Linked DNA regions of Homo sapiens: region 2 is linked to region 1. The links are contacts of gene promoters, found by promoter capture Hi-C in human tissues and cell types (Jung and others, 2019). All regions are on one chromosome and are shown on one strand. The core of a region is centred on a gene start or on the middle of the fragment in contact, and the rest is flanking DNA. Distances in the headings are between cores, read along the strand shown.

Region 1 (5,072 bases), core at 1,338-3,837:
GAGCCATATTAATAGCAGAGAACCAGAGAGAAGATCCTGCTATGAGCTCTTAAGCTGTCATGAATCCAGAGCTCCTTTCCAGCTCTGGTCTTCAGGGTTGTCCTATGGCAGCTCCAGGTGTCCCTGTTATCCTGTTCTTATTATTCCATAGACATCTACATAAGTTTGCTAGGGCTGCTGTAACAAAGTACCACAGACTAGACGAACTTAACCAACAGAAATTTATTTCCTCACAGTTCTGGAGGCTGGAAGTCCAAGATCAAGGTATCAGCATGGCTGGTTCTTTCTGAGGGCCATGAGGGAAGGATTTGTTTCAGGCACCCTAGGCTTGTAAATAGCTGTCTTCTCCCTCTATAGATGTCACGTACATGACATTTCCTCTTCTAAGGACATCACTCATATGAGATTAGAACCCAACCTAATGACCTCTTTTTAATATAATTACCTCTTTAAAGACCTTATCTCCAAATATTGTCATACTCTGAAGTATGGAAGTGCGGTTAGGACTTCAAGATACGTTTTTTTTTTTTTGAGACGGAATCTTGCTCTGTCGCCCAGGCTGGAGTGCAGTGGCGCGATCTCGGCTCACTGCAAGCTCTGCCTCCAGGGTTCACGCCATTCTCCTGCCTCAGCCTCCCAAGTGGCTGGGACTACAGGCACTCGCCACTACACCCGGCTAATTTTTTGTATTTTTTAGTAGAGACGGGTTTTCACTGTGTTAGCCAGGATGGTCTCGATCTCCTGACCTCGTGACCCACCCGCCTCGGCCTCCCAGAGTGCTGGGATTACAGGCGTGAGCCACCATGCCCAGCCTCAAGATACATTTTTGAGGAGACATAATTCAGCTCAAAACAATAGCTTTAAAATAATCTCCTCTTGATTTAAGCTAGCTTAAGTGAGCCTCAGTTGCCTGTAACTGAATAGTTCTTACCAAAATATCTACATTTTCTGGTCTTCCATTATTATTTGAGACAGGTTCTTTCCGTCGCCCAAGCTGGAGCACAGTGGTACAGTCATAGCTCATGTAGCCTTGAACTACTGACTTCAAGTGATCCTCCTGCCTCAGCCTCCCGAGTAGCTGGGGACTTCAGGTGCACATCACTACACCAGGCTAATTTTTAAATTTTTGTAGATATAGGGTCTCACTGTATTGCCCAGGCTGATCTCAAACTCCTGGTCTCAAGGGATCCTCCCCGTTCAGCCTTTCAAAGTGCTGGGATAATAGGCGTAAGCTACCACGCCCAGCCACTTCTATTATTATTATTATTATTATTATTTTTTTTTTTTTAGACGGAGTCTCGCTCTGTCGCCCAGGCTGGAGTGCAGTGGCGCCATCTTGGCTCACTGCAACCTCCGCCTCCCGGGTTCAAGCGATTCTCCTGCCTCAGCCTCCCGAGTAGCTGTGACTACAGGTGCACGCCACTACACCCAGCTAATTTTTGTATTTTTAGTAGAGACGGGATTTCACCATGTTGGCCAGGATGGTCTCAAACTCCTGACCTCAGGTGATCCACCCGCCTCGGCCTCCCAAAGTGCTGGGATTACAGGCATGAGCCACCGTGCCTGGCCTATTAGTTTTAAACTGCTTATATGTTTCTTTCAAGCATCCCAATATTTTAAGTTGCAAGAGAGCAGTAACATTTTAATAGTTCATTGAATTCTGCCTCCACAGACCTAGCACCCTACAAACAATTGGCACAGAAAACAAAAGGCAGAGTGAAGATTTCTGAGGTAGATGTTGTGGTGTACCATCCAGACCCCCCTTTAGAACTGAAGCATTCATTCCCTTAGCAGCTAGGAGTGTTGGCTGCTGACAGTTCACAGCTAAGTCTTATTCCAAGAACTGCCAACAGAGCCACCTCACCCAAGGTAATGCCCCCTCCTAGGAGGTGGCCTGCATCCAATGATGCAGACCCCTAAGAACGCATCCTTCTTAGCTCAGTACAGAAAGTCTCTGAGGGCCACCTCAGCTCCAGAGAAACTTGTGAGATAGGCTGTGGCCTCTGTTGCAAACGCATCACAGTTCAACTCTCCCTCTAACCAATCCTACTACCCACCCAAGAGCTGCTGATCCTGAGACCACTCTAAAATAAATTTCCTGCACACAAATCTCTGTCTTAGAGTCTGTTTCCCAGGAAACTTGACTTGCAGTGCAGCTAACACTGTAACAGAAATGAAAACAAACAAACAAAAAAACTCAGAAAAATTAACCAGATACTGGGTTCATTTCCTCTTTTCCATTTCTTGCTTTTGGAGAATCCTGTCCACCTTCTATCTCCTTGCTAGAGACAGGGTCCTGTTTCTTCCAGTGCCCTCAACCAGCCACTCCTCAACACCACAGGCAGAAACCCCAGAAACCCTGCTCTCCCAGGACAGCAGGGGGCGCCACAGACCCCAGTTCCTCCCCTGGGTCCTGCAGCTGCACTTCTGAAGTCTGGTCCCTTCAGGATCTGGCAGCGGGTGAAGACCAAAGGAGAGGAGGGGGTGAAGCAGAGGAATCCATCTAGGAGAAGCTAGTTCTGGCAGCTCCCCATTGGCCTCTTCCTGGGAGCCTGAGTCCAGGAAGCAGGAAGCGCTCACTGGCTCTGAGGACAGAGACATGGGCCCTGCTGGCTGTGCCTTCACGCTGCTCCTTCTGCTGGGGATCTCAGGTGAGCGCCAGGGTGGGGTTGAGAAGGCAGAGGCAGAGGATTTTTACTAAAGAGGGCATCACATAGAACAATGTGACACTTCACCCATGGGATGTTAGTTATGAGTAGCACAGCCTGAGAAGGTCCTGAGAGGCTACTATATACCCAGCACCATTCCAATGCTCCCGATTGGAAATAGCAGTACACACACACACCCACAAGATCCCTATCTTCGTGGGACTTATAATCAATGCACATATTAAATGTGTAAATTATAAGGCTTGTTAGAAGGTAATAAGTACTATGAAAGGAAAGGGGCATCTGAAGTACAGGGGCAGGAGTGTTGCAATCTTTAGAAGGGTAGTTAAAGAAGGCCTCACTAAGAAGGAGTCATTTGAGCAGAACTGAAGGGGATAACTAAATTAAGTAAGAGGATCCAGGAAAAGAGCATCTCAAGCAGAGGGAACTGGAAGAGCAAACACTATTCTATGATTTCAGGTATATGCTTGTTCATTTATTTTTCTGGTCCACAGGGATTTAAAGGAAGGGTATACTGGCCAGGCACAGCAGCTCACGCCTGTAATCCCAGCACTTTGGGATGCCAAGGCGGGCAGATCACCTGAGATCAGGAGTTCAAGACCAGCCTGGGCAACATGGTGAAACCCCATCTCTACAAAAAATACAAAAATTAGCCGGGCGTGGTGGCGGGCACCTGTAGTCCCAGCTACTCAATAGACTGAGGCAGGAGAAGTGCTTGAGCCTGGAAAGTGGAGGTTGCAGTAAGCCGAGATAGCGCCACTGCACTCCAGCCTTAGCGACAGAGTAAGACCCCGTCCCCCCAAAAAACAGAAAGGGTATGCTGAGAGAGCAAAAAACTTAACAGGTAGCAAAGAAGAAAGATACACAAATACTGCAAAATGCCAATTCAGTTAAACCAAATAGCACAAAAGTAAACAGCTTGCAACCTCAACCGCATCTGAGGGCATCATTGTATTTATAAACTAACATACTTCATATTCCTGATGGTGACCTTGAATCAAGTAAAAGCTAAATTTGAATCTTCATAGAGCATTTTTTTTTTAAGAGACAGAGTCTCACTCTGTCACCCAGGTTAGAGTGCAGTGGTGCAATCATAGCCCACTGCAACCTCAGACTCCTGGGTTCAAGCAATCCTCCCACTCAGCCTCCCTAGTAGCTGGGACTACAGGTGTGGTTGAACCACACCTGTTGTGTTTGTGGCCCAAAAGAAGAAAAAAAAAACCCTGACTAGTATTTAGGAAGTGATTTGTGAAAAGTAAGAAAAGTCTCTAATATAGCACCTGTCTCCAACATTCCTTTTTCTACTTCTGTGCCTTATCTCTGGTCATCCCTAGTTTGAGAGTCCCATGTGACCTAGGGTTTCCTTCTGCCCTGCCTATCTCACCACATTTTTTTCCTTTTCTTTTCAGACAGGGTCTCACTCTCTCGCCCAGGCTGGAGTGCAGTGGCATGATCTAAACTCACCGCATCCTCCACCTCCCGGGCTCAAGCAATCCTCCTGCTTCAGCCTCCCAAGTAGCTGGGACTACAGGCATGCACCATCATGTCAGGCTAATTTCTTTATATTTTTTGTAGAGACGGTGTTTGGCCATGTTGCCCAGGCTGGTTTTGAACTCCTGGACTTGAGCAATCCACCCACCTCAGCCTCCCAAAGTGCTGGGGTTATAGGCGTGAGTCACTGTGCCCAGTCAATCTTACCACTTTCATTTGTCTATTGGTTCATTTATGTAGTCATGCAAATATTCACTGAGAACCTGTCTGTGTGCTAGCTACCAGCTAGAGCTCACACTTGTATGTAGTGTGCTGTTGTCAGTATCCACCTCTCACTGACCAGGGAACATCCACAGATAAAGCTGTGGCCCAAGTATAGGCTGACCTGCCAAGGCCAGCACCCTGCAGCAGCATCTTGGCCATCTACAACACGTCTTGAGTATACAGGTCACCAGCACACTAGAGAAAGAAGAGAAAGAGAAATGTGGAAATCTTTTTCTTTTTCAATTTTTTTTTTAGAGACCTGGTTTCACTATATTGCCCAGGCCTCAAGCAGTTCTCCCACCTCATCCTCCCAAAGCACCAGGATTACAGGCATGAGCCACTATCCCTGGTTTAAAAAAAAAATTTTAAGTTAAATGATATTCCATGTGTGCTGCTAAAGAAGGCAGGTAAGTATGTTTGTGAAGATTCCCACTAATAGGTAGAAGGCATTTGAAAATTTTGGCCTTTAACACCAATCTGGAAAATTTAAATATAAAGGAAGGTTCTCTGTTCAGTGAATCTAGATATTAGATGTGTTACTATGTGTTAATGATACCCTATTTCTTCCTTAGGTTCTTGCTTACACTCTTTTCCCAAAAAGAAAGAGCTACAATCAGGGGAGTGGTCTCCATTTTGAGCCCAAGACTG
Region 2 (5,072 bases), core at 823-3,322, 140 kb before region 1:
TTTCCCCCTTCAACATGAATAGGGAAGAAAGGAATCTGTATTTAGCAAACTAAGTGGCAACACTTTGTTTTATTTTATTTATTTATTTTTTGAGACAGGGTCTCACTCTGTTGCCCAGGCTGGAGTGCAGTGGCGTGATCATGGCTCACTGCAGCCTTGCCCTCCCATGCTCACACCATCCTCCCACTTCAGCCTCCCAAGTAGCTGGGACTACACACGCGTAACACCATGCCAAGTTAATTTTTCAATTTTTTGTGGGGACAGGGTCTCACTATGTTGCCCAGGCTGGTCTTGAACTCCTGAGCTCAAGTGATCCTACCTACTGCCTCAGCCTCCCAAAGTGTTGGGATTACAGGCATGAGCCACTGTGCCCAGCCAAGCACTTAATATAATATCTCATTTACAAGGCTCAGTAGAGGAGGGCTGGGTTGCAATAAAATATTTGGCTATAATGCATGCAATTTAAAACTACTTAAAGCTCGAGGTTTATATTAAATCAGTGCCTTCTTGAATTTTAAAGTTTTGAAGTTTTAAAACAATTTTTTAAACTTGTGGGCTTAGAAATAACACTTATACCAATAATGTGGCAGATTCTGTGTGATTGATTTCAGTGTGGTAATTGTGCTTTTTAAAGTACTGCTACATTGGGCAGAAGAAAAATGAGGAAGAGTGCTAAAACAAACATTATTCTTAATATTAATTTACAGAATGTGGTTGAATTTCTCCAAAGAATCAAGGCATAGATACACTGGACAATGTTTAATGCCTACCCTTCATAATCCAAGAGACTCAAATTCATTTCTATTTGAAGAATTCAGATTTTCTGTTAGTCTTGTTTTCTAATATTCTGATGTAATGGAATTTATTTACTTTTTCCTTCCAAATAAGCTGTTAATGCTGTTAAGCTAAATTTATTGATATTTCACAGTATCAGTAAGTTATATCAGGGACCGAGTCATCCTATTCCAATTGATACAAATGTGTGAGGGCAGTCTGATTTTATCCCCATGTTTCACACAGCCATCTGGGCTTACACACAGCTCTCACACATAGGAATGCTTTCACAAGTTAGGCCGTGAGGGTATAAAAATTCTGGTGCTTTAATATAATTTTCCTAATCAGATTAGAAATTATTTTGTGGGTACAACCATTAATGAACCACTATCTCCAATATAAATACTTCTGTATTCCCAAATAAATTTTTTTTTAAAGATGGAGATAAATAAGAATGGAAAAGATGAAAGAAACTCAAACCAAAATGTACTCCAAAGAAAAGAAGTGGTACCATAACCTCAGAGAACATCTCTACAGGATAAGCTAGTATCACTGAATTCATGTTCACTAAATGTCTCAAAGAATTACCATATATCCTTAAGTGCTTAACAACTCTCCAAGAACAGCTGATTCACCAGTTGACCTGTGGTGGTCTTTCACTTTAGGATTTCAGACAGCATTTAGGCATTAAGTTCTAACACTCCATAATATAATAATTAACCATCACCTAGTTGACCAAATCTTTATTTTTGAATTTTCCAAATGCCAAATGAATCAATGAAAGAGAACTAGAATCTGGGTTTCTAGTTATTTTTTCCAACCTACAAGTCACATAGAACCCACTGAGTATATGACCAAATTAAAACAAACACAACCCACTTACAATCACTTTGACATAGTTGGCAGGAAATATGCCAATCTGGTTTCTACAGTTCCCTCTGTACCAATCTGTATCTATCTTCTCCAGAAGATAAACAATTTCTCCAGAAGTGAGGTTCAAATCATCAACTTGCTCTGTAATATAAAATTATAGTTATGTATGATGAATCATCCTGGTTGCAGATTTGATAAAAGCACAAAGTAGCATTTAGTTGTGTCCACTGAGGCAGTTATGTTCCACTGATTCTGAGAACAGATTATACTAATCAAATTGACTTAAAAAATGCTATTCTTTTTTTGGACATTGTTATGAGCTCCCTTTTTAAAGACCAAATTAGACACATTTACCATGCTTTGATTGATGGGAAATGGTTGAAAAAAACACTATTGTGTTAGCAAATGTTTCCTACTGTGCCAATATAAAGCCGTGCTGAATACACACTGAACAATGAAAAAAGTTTATAGACATGGTATAATATTATTATTCTCAATTATGCTTAAAAATCATTTTAATTTCAAATATTAACTAAGGGAGTACTACAACTCTTTAGCAAATAAGTTTACCCATACCAAAACAAAAATCAGCCTATCAAGTGGATAAAAAGAGATTGTAAGTAAATCAGGAGTTTATTTGTAGCCTTGGATATGAAGGGCATTTTAAAAATTATTACAAAAGTACTTATATTGTGCGTGGGCATGGGTGGCTCATGCCTGTTATCTCAGCACTTTAAGAAGCTAAGGTGGGAGGATCACTTGAGGCCAGGAGTTCAAGACCAGCCTGGGCAACATAGCGAGACCATGTCCCTAGGAAAAAAAAAAATTAGCCAGGTGTAGTGGCACCCCTGTAGTCCTAGCTACTGGGGAAGCTGAGGGAGGAGGATCACTTGAGTCCAGGAGTTCAAGGTTATAGTGATTGCACCACTGCACTCAAGCCTAGGCGACAGAGCAAGATCTTGTCTCACACACACACACACACACACACACACACACACACACACACACACACAAATTACTTTGATCTCATAGGTAAGTAAGCAGCTGAGACAACTTTGAAGACAAAAGAACTTCAGTTATTAAGTTAGGATTAACTTTATTACAATTTTTTTGTTGTTGTTGTTTTTTGAGACGGGGTTTTGCTCTTGTTGCCCAGGGTGCAACGGCACAATCTTAGCTCATTGCAACCTCTGCCTCCCAGGTTCAAGTGATTCTCCTGACTCAGCCTCCCAAGTAGCTGGGATTACAGGCATGCGTCACCATGCCCGGCTACTTTTTTGTATTTATAGAGACGGGGTTTCAACATGTTGGTCAGACTGGTCTGGACTCCTGACCTCAGGTGATCCATCCGCCTCGGCCTCACAAAGTGCTGGGATTACAGGTGTAAGCCACTGTGCCCAGCCATATTACAATTGTTAATTAGTACCCACTATTTTTTTTTTTCTTTTTTGAGACGGAGTCTCGCTCTGTCCCTCGGGCCGGAGTGCAGTGGCGCGATCTCAGCTCACTGCAACCTCAGCCTCGCGGGTTCACGCCATTCTCCTGCCTCAGCCTCCCGAATAGCTGGACTACAGGCGCCCGCCACTACGCCCGGCTAATTTTTTGTATTTTTAGTAGAGACGGGGTTTCACCATGTTAGCCAGGATGGTCTCAATCTCCTGACCTCGTGATCCGCCTGCCTCGGCCTCCCAAAGTGCTGGGATTACAGGCGTGAGCCACTGCGCCCGGCCTAGTACCCACTATTTTGAAAGAGTTAAAAAGTTTGTGACTGGTAGGCAATTTGCAATGTTCATTTGTAAGGGAAAGTCTCTCTCTCTCTCTTTCTCTTTCTCAGGGAGCTTCAAAGGCAAGGGTATACAACTAAGCTTTCTGGAATGGCTGGTACAATCAACCCTTCTTGAAGTGGAGTCCTGGATAAGATGACCTCTCCAGTCTCGGACTCTATAGGCACAGAAAAATGAAGAAGGATGTCCTTGAGAGGCTAACCCCCGGCAGGGAAAAAGACTTACTCCTGGATCCTGTGGTTCTCCCACTGCATTATTTACATCCTTACCTGCTGGGAAATCATGAAGAACGACAGCATGAGGAGCACCACTGTCAACAGGCTTCTGAGCGTGGCTTGGATCCTTAGGGGGAGAAAAGGGCTGTGAATGAAGTGTGCAGGATAGATGGTGGATTTATTATTCACTCTGAGACCAATTTTTTTTTTCTCATTAGAGTCCTCTTGACACAATTACATTATGAGTACATGATGCAAACCACACAGTTGAGCCAAACAAGGGAATTATTATCAAGTTGAAGAAGAATGTGTCCTTGCTAAGGGAGGATGAAAATCTCAATTAAAATATCCCCCAGTATGTTTTCTTTTTGCTTTTTTAAGCTGAGAGAGTAAAACAAAAGGGAACTGTTTATTTATTTTGAAACAGTATCTATTCTACCCCAAAGTAGTGGTTTTTGACCTCTTTCCCTTTCAAGGATAGCTTTTTCCTTAAAACTGTGATCAAGACAGAGTCTTAAAAGTTGTGTCTTTATTAGGATGGGAAAAGAAGAAAGTTCTATGATTTATGCTCTTGCCTTTTGTAATGAAAGGAGCTAATGACTTTCAACAGAAGTATAATTCACAAAAAGTAAAATCCATTTCATTTATTACCACTTAACTAAGTGCTTTTTCTAATTTGAAAGCAATGCTACCTCCCATGCCTGGTCTGCATTTTGTATTTAATCTGAATGGTTTATTCAACAGTAGTTCTAAATAAATTAGCAAAAAGAATCTAACATTCTCTATCCATCTAGCCAAATGCCGAGATTGGCCAGAGGATAAGGCAAAGCTGAAGAGCGACCTCTTCTTATTGACTAGCAATTGTTATTCTTAGTTTCTTTATATCAAGAGACAGGCTTATCCTCATCATCATCAAATCCCACTGAAGGATATTATTTGGAGTTATAACTTAACACTCTTCAACACTGGCAAGCCTGTGAAATAAATAAAGGCAGATTTTTGTGCCCTTTCTTGTCTCTTCACCTCCTCTAATAACTCTTGTCCCCTTAGAGACGTCCTGACACATCTATACCTCTGCCCTTCCCCTGGCCATGATGCACCAGGCTGATTGCAGCGCACTGTGAATGATGGTCCACTTTCTCCATTTCAACCCTGCAGCACCTTTGCTGAGATCTTTTCTAAATCTCAGCTGCTCTTTCAACCAAAATGCACCTGCAGAAACAAAACTTTCATTCTCTCAAGTTAGGTAAACTGAAATATAACTTAAGACTCTAATGGCTAATGTAGCTTACTATATTAGCTTACTAAGAAGACCCTAACATTTTTTCATGGACTGCTTAATGCTTTTCTCTAAATAAATGAACAATATGGAAATTTCATGAATTCTGAGATATTTTAGGTCTGACATGGCTTTTTTTTCTTTGAC

Evidence for each region. Contacts are between HindIII fragments. The study calls those that stand out against the background at their distance.
Region 2: a contact is called between a fragment that was not itself captured here and the fragment with the promoter of PRSS48 in region 1, in 1 of the 25 tissues and cell types used here (adrenal gland).

The regions. Positions count from the first base shown.
Region 1 is chr4:151,274,574-151,279,645 of GRCh38, forward strand. It overlaps PRSS48 (serine protease 48), which reads left to right and starts at 2,588. Exons shown (of 5, transcript NM_183375.5): 1 at 2,588-2,651. The coding sequence starts at 2,600. All of the region lies in intron 1 of SH3D19 (SH3 domain containing 19), which reads right to left. LOC124900799 (a long non-coding RNA gene) reads right to left here and starts at 585. Exons shown (of 2, transcript XR_007058328.1): 1 at 1-585. The HindIII fragment of the contact is 14,422 bases long and covers 1-5,072 here.
Region 2 is chr4:151,136,075-151,141,146 of GRCh38, forward strand. SH3D19 (SH3 domain containing 19) reads right to left here. Exons shown (of 20, transcript NM_001378122.1): 13 at 3,701-3,773; 14 at 1,658-1,788. It overlaps SH3D19-AS1 (SH3D19 antisense RNA 1), which reads left to right. Exons shown (of 2, transcript XR_001741442.2): 2 at 3,482-5,020. Among named protein-coding and RNA genes, the nearest start is that of SH3D19-AS1, 14 kb to the left of the region's middle. The HindIII fragment of the contact is 6,577 bases long and covers 1-5,072 here.